Regions from separate parts of the Homo sapiens genome. Here region 1 is linked to region 2. Evidence: promoter capture Hi-C in 16 types of primary human blood cells and fetal thymus (Javierre and others, 2016). All regions are on one chromosome and are shown on one strand. The core of a region is centred on a gene start or on the middle of the fragment in contact, and the rest is flanking DNA. Distances in the headings are between cores, read along the strand shown.

Region 1 (5,504 bases), core at 3-2,502, 170 kb after region 2:
GAGTCCTGGTCACATAGTGAGTAGTTCTCCTTGTACTCTCACCCATGTGTCTGTCCATCTTTCCATCTATGCATACATCCATACATCTGTCCATCATCCACCCTTGTATCCATCTATCCATCCATCCATTCATCCTTCCATTCATTCATTCAACAAGTATTTATTGAGCACTTAATATGCAAACTACCTTCCATAAATCTTATTCAATCCAAGTAATGAGAACCATGTGTGGTTATCACCTAAGACCAAGAAAAGTAGAGATTCTTGTGCCAGCACATGGCAATGAGCTGTGGTGGGACTGTCTGACTCCAGGATCAGATCTTTTAACACTGAGCTGTATGAACTGACTGCGGTGTGCTGGGTGTATGGTGAAGAACCCAGAGGCCCAGACCAAGCTTGAGCGCCCTCCCCAACACCTCTGTTCCCAAGCCCCTGCCCACTCCATCCTGCCCCAACACAAGGCTGAGGCCCTGTCTTGTTGCTCAGGGACCCCCAGGCCCCACTGGACCCAAAGGAATCTCTGGCCACCCAGGAGAGAAGGGCGAGAGAGTGAGTACCCAGGTGGCCCCAGGTGGGGGAATTCTGGGGAGTCCTGAGGGCCCCAGGTCAGAGTCCTCAACAGCTGACGCCATTCGTCTCCTCCCTCTTACACAGGGACTGCGTGGGGAGCCTGGCCCCCAAGGCTCTGCTGGGCAGCGGGTAAGTGTTGCTGTCTGTCCCGCATTCATCCCTGCAGGATCCCTTAGTCCCAGATTCCTCCTGTGACTCCATCCCCTGCAACCAGAGCTTCTAACCCTCCCTGTCTTGTCATTTATTTTCAGATGCTCCCTGTCTCTGAGACTCATTGTCCTCTTTGGATTAGGCTGCCTCTGTCTCTCTCACTCTGGCTCTCTGTTTCTCTGTATCTCTCTCTTTCCCTCTGTACGTCTGTCTCTTTGACTCTGTATTTCATTTACACTCTATCTCTCCAATTCTGATTGTAGATCTGTTCATTTCTCTCTTTAATTTGGTGAATTTTGCTTTACGTATTTTGAGTCTTTGTTATTAGGTGCATTCACATTTAGTATTTTAATGTCTCCTTGGTCATTTTATCTTTATGAAATTAATATCTTTATCTCTGATAATACTTGCCTTGAATCGACTTTGTGTGCTTTTAATAGCACACCAGCTTTCTTATGCTTGCTATTTGCATGTTATATCTTTTTTTATCCTTTTTTTTTTCAACCTGTAACTTTATATTTAAAGTGCATCATGGCTGGGTGTGGTGGCTCACACCTGTAATCCCAGCACTGTGGGAGGCCGAGGAAGGTGGATCGTTTGAGCTCAGGAGTTCAAGACCAGCTTGGGCAACATGACAAAACTCTGTCTTTATATAAAAATATGTATATAAATTTTATTAAATGTAAGAAAGTGTGGACCGGGCACGGTGGCTTACGCCTGTAATCCTAGCACTTTGGGGGGCTGAGACGGGTGGATCACCTGAGGTCAGAAGTTCAAGACCAGCCTGGTCAACATGGTGAAACCCCGTCTCTACTAAATATACAAAAATTAGCCAGGCATGGTGGTAGGCACCTGTAATCCCAGCTACTCGGGAGGCTGAGGCAGAAGAATTGCTTGAACCCAGGAGGCAGAGGTTGCAGTGAGCTGAGATCACACCATTGTGCTCCAGCCTGGGCAATAAGAGTGAGACTTCATCTCAAAAAAAAAAAAAAAAAAAAGTGCATCATATGACTTGGGTCTTGCTGTTTAAAAACAGTTTGACTGTTTAGTTAATTTATATTTAATGATATGTATAATTGATTAATATGGTTCTGTTTAGCCATCTTGCTGTTTATGTTCTATTTATTCCTTCTGTTTTGTGTTTCTTTTTTCCCTTTTCTTTTCTTGTCTTCTTTTGGATTGAGTACTTTTTATGATTTCTTTTTTCTTTTTTAGAGACAGGGTTTCCCTATGTGCCTAGGCTGAACTCAAACTCCTGGGCACATAGTGAATGAAGTGTCTTAAGTGATCTTCTTGCCTCAGCCTCCCAAGTATCTGGGACTACAGGTGTGCACCATTGTGCCTGACTTAAAATCTTCTCTTTCTAAAATTAATTTTCTTTCTAGAATTAAAGCTTTCTAGAATTTAAGCTTTTTTTTTTTTTTTTTTTTTTTTTTTGATACAGGGTCTTTCTCTGTCACCCAGGTTGGAGTGCAGTGGTGCAATCATAGCTCACTGTAGCCCCAACCTCCCTGGCTCAGGCAATCCTCACACCTCAGCCTCCTGAGTAGCTGGGACCACAGGCATGTACCACCATGCCCAGTTAACTTCTATTCCTTTACATTTAATCTGTTTTGTGGTTATATTTAAAGTCAGTTTCTTATAGAAAACCTACGGTTAGGTCTTATTTTTTGGTCCATTCTAACAATCCTCATCTTTTATTTGCTGCATTTAGGCCATTGACATTTAAAGTGATTATTGAGGCCCAGCATAGTGGCCCACACCTGTAATTCCAGCACTTCAGGAGGCCAAGGCAGGAGGATCACTTGAAATCAGGAGTTTGAGACTAGAGTGGGCAACAAAATGAGACCCTTTTTCTATAAAACAAATTTAAAAATTGGCTGGACGTGGTAGTGTGCACCTGTAGATTCAGCTACCTGAGAGGCTGAGCTGGGAGGATTGCTTGAGCCCAGGAGTTTAAGGTGACAGTTATAATTGCTTTACTGCATTCCAGCCTGAGTGACAGAACCAGACCTTGCCTCTAAAACATAACTAAATAGTCTGTGCACGGTGGCTCACACCTGTAATCCTGGCACTTTGGGAGGTGGAGGCAGGGGGATCACCTGAGGTCAGGAGTTTGAGACCAGCCTGGCCAACATGGTGAAACCCCGTCTCTACTAAAAACACAAAAATTAGCCAGGTATGGTGGCGCACTCCTGTAATCCCAGCTACTCAGGAGGCTGAGGCAGGAGAATTGCTTGAACCTGGGAGGCGGAGGTTGCAGTGGGCCAAGATTGTGCCACTGCACTCCAGCCTGGGCGACAGAGTGAGACTCCATCTCAAAAAAATAAGTCAATCAGTAAAATAAAAAATAACTAAATAAATGAAGTGTTATTTATATAGTTGGGTTAACAGCTACCATATTACTATTTTCTTTCTTTTTTTTCTTTTTTTTTTTATTTTTTGAGGCAGAGTCTTGCTCTGTCGCCCAGGCTGGAGTCTAGTGGCTGGATCTCGGCTCACTACAAGCTCCGCCTCCCGGGATCAAGCAATTCTCCTGCCTCAGCCTCCCAAGTAGCTGGGACTACAGGCGCCCACCACCATACCTGGCTAATTTTTGTATTTTTAGTAGAGATGGGGTTTCACCATCTTGGCCAGACTGGTCTTGAACTTCTAACTTTGTGATCTACCGGCCTTGGCCTCCCAAAGTGCTGGAATTACGGGTGTGAGCCACCTCGCCCAGCTACTATTTTCTATTTGTTTTCCTTGTTCTTTGTTCCTATTTTTGTCTGCCAGACTTTTTCTGCCTTTTTTTGGCTTTATTTATTTATTTACTTACTTATTTTCTTTTGAGAGAGAGTCTTGCTCTGTCACCCAGGCTGTAGTGCAGTGGTGTGATCTCTGCTACTGCAACCTCTGCCTCTTGGGTTCAAGCAATTCTCTGCCTCAGCCTCCTGAATAGCTGGGACTACAGGCACCTGCCACCCTGCCTGGCTAATTTTTATATTTTTAGTAGAGACAGGGTTTCACCATGTTGGCCAGACTGGTCTCAAACTCCTGACCTCAGGTGATCCACCCACCTCAGCCTCCCAGAGTGCTGGGGTTACAGGTGTGAGCCACCATGCCCGGCCATGCTCCTCCTTTCTTTATGTAAAATCTGAGTTTCTGGCCAGGCACGGTGGCTCACGCCTATAATCCCAGCACTTTGGGAGGCCGAGGTGGGCAGATCATGAGGTCAGGAGATGGAGACCATCCTGGTGAACACGGTGAAACCCCGTCTCTACTAAAAATACAAAAAAAATGTAGCTGGGCGTGCTGGCAGGTGCCTGTAGTCCCAGCTACTTGGGAGGCTGAGGCAGGAGAATGGCATGAACCTGGGGGATGGAGCTTGCAGTGAGTGGAGATCGCGCCACTGCACTGCAGCCTGGGCAACAGAGCGAGACTCCGTTTCAAAAAAAACAAACAAAAAAAATCTGAGTTTCTGACACATAATTTTTGTCCTCTCTGAAGAACTACCTTTATTTTTTCCCAGTTGGCTTTATTTGTGATTCTAGAATCGGGCAACACTTCATTCCATAAAATAAAATAAGTGCTCCGCTGAAGAACTTCTTTTAATGTTTCCTACAAGGCAGATCTACTGACAAAAATTCCCTCACTGTTTGTTTGTCTGAAAGTCTTCATTTCCCTTTCATGCATGAAGGATAATTTTTCAGGGTAAAGAATTCTAGGTTGATGTGTTTTTTTCCTCTCAATACTTGGTATATTACTCTCCACTCTCTTGCTTGCATGGTTTCTGCAGAGTTGGTTGTAATTATTATTGTTGCTCCTCTGCAGGAAAGATATTTTTTCCCTCTGTTTTCTTTTCAGTATTTTTTTATCTTTGATTCTCTGAAGTTTTTCTAAAAATTATTATTATTATTATTATTATTATTATTATTATTATTATTATTATTAGAGATAAGGTCATACTCTGTCACCTCAGAAGCCTTGAGGCTTCTGGGCTCAAGGGATCCTCCCGCCTCCACCTCTCGAGTAGCTGGGACTACTGTCATGTGCCACACCTGGCTAATTTTTTTTTCTGTTTTGAGATGAAATCTCACTCTTGTCCCCAAGGCTGGAGTGCAATGGTGTGATCTTGGCTCACTGCAACCTCCGCTTCCTGGGTTCAAGCGATTCTCCTGCCTCAGCCTCCCAAATAGCTGGGATTACAGGCACCTGCCATCACGCCCGGCTAATTTTTTGTATTTTTAGTAGAGACAGGGTTTCACCATGTTGGCCAGGCTGGTCTCAAACTTCTGACCTCAGGTGATCCGCCCGCCTCGGCCTCCCAAAGTGGTGGGATTACAGGCGTGAGCCACCGTGCCCGGCCATTTTTTTTTTTTTTTTTTTTAATTTTAGAAGCAAGATCTCACTATGTTGCCCAGGCTGGTCTTTCTGACCTCTAGTGATCCTCTTGCCTTGGCCTCCCAAAGTGCTGGGATTACAGGTGTGAGCCACTGCACCCAGCCTGATTTTCTGAAATTTGGATATGATATGCCTACTTGTCATTTCTTGGCATTTATCCTATATGGTATTCCCTTATCTTCCTAGATCTGTGGTTTGGTGTCTGACATTTTTGGGGGGAAAATTCTGTCATTATTACTTCAAATATTGCTTGTGTTTCTTTCTCTTTTTTCCTTCTGGTATTCTATTATGCATATTTACATCTTTTGTAATTGTCCCACAATTCTTGGATATTCTGTTCTATTCTTTCAGCCTTTTTTCTCTTTGCATTTCAGTTTTGAAAGTTTCCATTGTCATATCAT
Region 2 (5,719 bases), core at 2,957-5,456:
TATTGGGGGTTTAGGCAGTGTCACAGGAGAGCATCTGTTATAAGGTGTGTGGGTTTACATCCTTGTGAGAATGGTAGGCTTTCTGCTCAGCCCTATGTAGAAGGAGCTAGGGAAAGTGATAGTGATTGAGCCTAGGGGTCCACTTTTTATTTTTTATTTATATTTATTTATTTATTTATTTATTTTTGAGACAGAGTCTCACTCTGTCGCCCAGGCTGGAGTGCAGCGGCGCAATCTCGGCTCACTGCAAACTCCGCCTCCCAGGTTCAAGCCATTCTCCTGCCTCAGCCTCCTGAGTAGCTGGGACTACAGGTGCTCCCCACCACGCCCGGCTAATTTTTTTTTTTTTTTTTTGTATTTTTAGTAGAGACGGGGTTTCACCATGTTAGCCAGGATGGTCTCGATCTCCTGACCTCATGATCTGCCCACCTTGGCCTCCCAAAGTGCTGGGATTACAGGCATGAGCCACCGCGCCCGGCCATCCACTTTATAAAAATAAGGAACCATATGGCCAGGCGTGGGAGCTCATACCTATAATCCCAGCTATTCAGGAGGTTGAGTCAGGAGGATCTCCTGAGGCAGGAGTTGGAGACCAGCCTCAGCAACATAGTGAGACCCCATCTCTCTACCGAGAAAAAAAAAAAGCTATACGTGTTGGGGTCCAAATGTAGTCTTAGCTACTCAGGAGGCTGAGGCAGGGGGATTGCTTGAGCCCAGGAAGTCGAGACTGCAGTGAGCTATGATCATGCCACTGCACTCCAGCCTGGGCGACAGAGCTGTCTCAAAAGAAAGAAAAGGAAGGGAAAGAAGGAAGGAAATAGGGAACCATAGCCTGAATATAAAACATCTGCTTTATCTGTCAGGTCTTTTCCTACCTGGAAGACTAAGAGACTCTCAAGGCCTTGGAGGAAAAATATTCCAAGCATCTACCCTTCAAAATTACCTAATCATGAGTGGAGAGGGACCCTTGGTCTTCAGTGAATCTGGTACCTCTTTGTTTCCCCTGAGAGGGTGTCGCTAATTTGTAAAGCACTCTGCGATAACACGGAAGGTGCAAAGTTGTGTTTATTTTTCAGATCTCTAGCAGAGAATACTCTAATCCCATGAGTTCTTGTTCCTATTTTTTGCTCTTTAACTTGGGCCATTTCTTGAGTACAGGCTCCTCGTGGACACCTGGCTGCTTCCTGCCAGGGAACCGGTCCCTCTGAGCACCTTCAGAGATGGCACCCTGACTGCAAAGAGCCTCCCAGAGCTTTTGTTTAATGGCCTTGCCCAGCTCCAGGCTGTACCTCTTGGGGGTCCCTGAAGGATTCCACAGCATTGGCTCCACCACAGCGTGGTACAGAGCCTGGTAACCCTCTGTGGGGAGACCATGGATGGTTAGCGTGTCCTCCGACAACTGCTGTCTCTTTTGGGTTTCAGGAAGCAACACTCGGCCCTTCCAGGCTGCTGTCCCACTGTCCTGGGGTAGCGCTTGGGTGGCAGCCACATGTTCAGCATATCTGTCCTCAAGATCTTGGCGGACTGTTAGTTTTTTCTCCTTTGAACTTTCTTTACTCTAGCCAGGAAGAAAGCAGAGAAGTCAAAGCTAAAACTTGAGAGGGGAGCTCAGAATAATTATCTGGGATTTGTGTCCCAGAGTCTTGGTTACAGCAACAACCAACATTTGTCTAGCATGTTCTAGTTTACTGAATTCCTTTATGTACATACCACTGCATGTGTTCCCCATAACCCTGTGAGGTCAGCAGGAGACAACTTTATAGGCAAAGAAATTGGAATTGGTTTGCCCAAGGCCACACAGCTAGAAGGTTAATAACAGCTGTCATCTATTGAATGCCACGCAAGATCCTAATTATTTACCCTCTGCCAGGCTCTGTTCAAAAGCCTTTTGCATGTATTATTTAACATTCATGAAGCCCTATGAGGGAAGGGCCGTTATCCCCCATTTAATATGATAATATCAAGGCACAAAGAAATTAAGCCCGAGGTCGTCCTCAATTACAGTCCGAGTTGGGATTTGAACCCTGATGGCCTGCTGGCCACCACGGGGTAACATACCTGGATTCCAATCAGGCCTTCGTAGGCCAAGTTCTCCATGTGGACGCTCACAATCCAGATCCATAGCTGACCACTGGTTGTGTGTGTGTGTGTGTGTGTGCACAAGCATGCACTACCCATATCCTAGCCTTCCTTCTCACCCTTATTTTTCCTTCATGTCAAGTCTGTGCTTATGAAAGCCACCTCATCCTTCTCTAGAACTAAGCATAGTGTAAATGATAAATAGCATGACCCCAAAATCTGGGGCATTCTTCCACTCTGTCATGCTACACCTCCTCCCCACATTCTGTCTTCAACTTTAGGATTTCCTTCACTTGGTATAGATCTTTTTTTCTTTTCTTTTTTTTTTTTTTTTTTTTTTATTTTTTAGACAGGGTCTTGCTCTGTTGCCCAATCAGGAATGCAGTAGTGCAATCATGGCTCACTGCAGCCTCAACCTCCTGGGTTCAAGTAATCCTCCCTCCTTAGCCTCCCAAGTAGCTGGGATCACAGGCATGTGCATCATGCCTGGCTTTTTTTTTTTTTTTTTAGTAGAGATGAGGTCTCCCTATGTTGCCCAGGCTGGTCTTGAACTCTCTGAGCTCAAGTGATCCTCCCTGCTTGGCCTCCCAAAGTGCTGAGATTATAGGCGGTAGCCGCACGCCATATAATCTCAACCGTTAAGTGTTCTCTGGCTTTACCTTTTCCCTCCCCTCGCCAGTCACATTTTCCCCACCACTGGTCCTCGTCTACCTCTCTGATGCCTCCTGCAGGCCTCCTATGCCCTGCTGGCTGCTTGCTCTTGGAACTGATGAAGTTTCTTTTCCTGGCCTGCTGGGTGGCTTTCATCACTGAATCGTCCTTGTGCTTTAATCTCTTCGAGAGTTTTCCTTCTCCAAACTTGCATGGTGGTGGGCAGCACTTATTCTTCAGTTGCCGCCTGAGTACAAGCTTAACCAGGGAGAAGGAACTGGCAATTAATGGGTTCCTTACAACTTCCCAAGAGGAAGTGGTAGCTGGTGCTGGGGCATTAATGTTCTGCTTTGCACATGTTCTGGCCATCCAGATGTTGGTGAGAGCCGGTGAGTCCACATAGCAGTCCTGAAGCCTGGTATTTAATAAGATGGACTGTCGGAGTCCATAGATAGGGATGCTGGGGTCTCGTCTCACATTGATTGGGTGCTAGAATTATAAGGAGGGAGAAATGAATTTTAAAAGGACCGTTCTTCAGCAGAGAATAAAAGGTCTACTTTGAAGGCAAAATATTAACATCTTTTTATAGGCCATTCCTTCCACCCAGTTCTTAGAAATTTACTATATGTCCTCTCCTGTTCACCAAAGCCTTTTATACCAAGTAGGGAGGAGATAGTCACTCCACAAGGTTACAGTAATATTCAGGCTCTCAAAGAACATAGCATGCCAGGGCAGGAAGTCGGGGGTCAGGGAGGGTTCACAAGGAATTGAAGACAATTCCTGCCTGCTGGAAAGATACGGACGGCAGGGTCACTCAAGACTTCCATATGAGCTGTAGACACTCAACCATGCTGCAACACAGACATGACAGCCGGTAAGTTCTGCCAAGCCCTGAATACGCTTTACACTTTCTTTTTTTGTGTGTGGGGGGGACGGAGTTTAGCTCTTGTTGCCCAGGCTGGAGTGCAATGGCGTGATCTTGGCTCACTGCAACCTCCGCCTCCCGGGCTCAAGGGATTCTTCTGCCTCAGCCTCCGAAGTAGTTGAGATTACAGGCATGCACCACCGCACCCAGCTGATGTTGTATTTTTAGTAGAGACAGGGTTTCTCCATGTTGGTCAGGCTGGCCTCGAACTCCCCACCTCAGATGATCCGCCCGCCTCAGCCTCCCAAAGTGCTGGGATTACCAGCATGAGCCACCATGTTCGGCTGAATACACTTTCTAACCAACTGCCATGCACCAAGAAGAGCTCATTCACAGGGAAATCAATATACTCTGGGGACCATAAAAGCAACACGAAAACATTAATGCTGCCGGCCTCCATTTCCTGGGACCAACTAAGAGCAACAGAACAATTTGGATAGATTAGAATCACATATTTAAAGAGATCTGGCTTTCTAAGAAATGTCATCTATAGAAATAAAATCACCTTACCATATTTCAGTTGCCTTAAATTTTATTTTCGCTAGCTTAGTAAGGGGAAGAAATATGTATTTTCTCTTTCCTTTTTCTCTCTCTCTCTTTTTTTTTGTTTTTGTTTTAATATTTCTAGTCACCTGTCTTTCTCTGCCTTAGTCACATATGGGCAAATTGCTGTTTGTTTAGATGTGGGCTCAATGCAGGCAGCTTTGAGCCATTATCTCTAGTATTTGTGATGTCACTTTGGTTTGTGATGTGGGTGTGGGTGGGTGTTACATCATCAGATTTTATAGTTAAATTATGTGGGAAGAAGTTCTATACGGTTTTGCTTCTAGCCTCAGAAACTTCTGAAGTCCTCATTTCCCCCAAAATGGCTTGGATGAATTTTGAAGATCTTCATGTTCTTAAGAAGTATGTTTTGCAGGAAATGTAGTCAAATATGCAGACCAGATTTGGGGATATGGGTAGTGAGATGCATCCCTACATGTGCAAAAGTGCCCTCCTTCATGTACATAAAGGAGGCACTGTTAAGTTCTCAGAACAGCTGCCAAGGTTAGGGACCAGGAATGAAAGAACACGTTCCTGCAGACCTGGGCACCTTTCCCTGCATGTCTCTCCCGGGAAGACTACATGGTTTCTGGAATGTGGGTTTCTTTTACATCCCATGGCAAATGCAGTAATTAGAGCTGTTAGCAGTGTCAAGGGCTTGAAAGGAGAACAAAGCCGCCTCTTCCTGGGAACTCTTGGGCAATGCCTCACTGCTTATCAGGTGCTCGTCCTGTTGGTGGGTTTGATTCTTTTATTTGTAAAATGCCTCAGGAGCCTCCCTCCTGAGGGGGAGGCCAGTGAAATGATGGAAAAACAGAGTATGAATCTGGCAGGGGCTCCTGGAATCGCATGTGTTGCCTGCTTGCGTTTTTAAGTGTTGTCCCTGGAGTGAATCAGAGCCTGCAGGCGGACCGCACCACAGGCTGTGGTGGAACCACCTCCAGGCCTATGGCAGCTGGACCCACAGACAGTTGAGAGGACAATTGCTCCCTTTCAGTGGCGAGCCCTGGCCTCACCTCCTAAGAGCTGGGTCGATTTTAGAGCAGGGCTTTGGAAAGGGTTTGTCTTTGGGAAGAGTTTGCGAATGTCTGGAGACTGGGCAGGCAAGAGTCTTTTCAAAGCTGGTCAGTCTTGGAAAAATGGCACCGGGCTCCTGGGCTACCTGGAAATTACCATCTGTCTTTACTCTGCAAAGCAGGGACAGGAGGGAAATGTCAAGCAAAAAAAGGCATAATAGGAGTAGGTCATCTGTTTCTCTTTTCTCCTTCTCCATCTTGAGTTTGGCTTTCCTGCACCTCATCTTTCCACACACTCATCCGTTAGATTTACTCTGCTAGGTCTTTTACTCAATGACTCTGCTTGGTCTTTTACTCACTCTGTCCCCCAGGCTGGAGTGCAGTGGTGCGATCTCGGCTCACTGCAACCTCCGCTTCCTGGGGTTCAAGCAATTCTCGTGCATCAGCCACCCAAGACGCTGGGATTACAGGCGCGGACCACCAAGCCCAGCTAATTTTTGTATTT

Evidence for each region. The method cuts DNA at HindIII sites, captures the fragments that hold promoters and counts their contacts. A CHiCAGO score of 5 or more calls a contact.
Region 1: a fragment that was not itself captured here is called in contact with the fragment with the promoter of C22orf31 in region 2 in 1 of 17 cell types (megakaryocytes); the score reaches 5.1 in megakaryocytes.

What each region holds. Positions count from the first base shown.
Region 1 is chr22:29,233,651-29,239,154 of GRCh38, forward strand. It overlaps EMID1 (EMI domain containing 1), which reads left to right. Exons shown (of 15, transcript NM_133455.4): 10 at 1-16; 11 at 487-549; 12 at 655-699. Among named protein-coding and RNA genes, the nearest start is that of EMID1, 31 kb to the left of the region's middle. RefSeq lists enhancers at 1-495, 496-996. The HindIII fragment of the contact is 1,718 bases long and covers 394-2,111 here.
Region 2 is chr22:29,057,625-29,063,343 of GRCh38, forward strand. It overlaps C22orf31 (chromosome 22 open reading frame 31), which reads right to left and starts at 4,207. Exons shown (of 3, transcript NM_015370.2): 1 at 4,166-4,207; 2 at 2,791-3,219; 3 at 1,048-1,558. The coding sequence starts at 4,168. The coding sequence ends at 1,118. RefSeq lists an enhancer at 4,577-5,344. The HindIII fragment of the contact is 5,266 bases long and covers 2,987-5,719 here.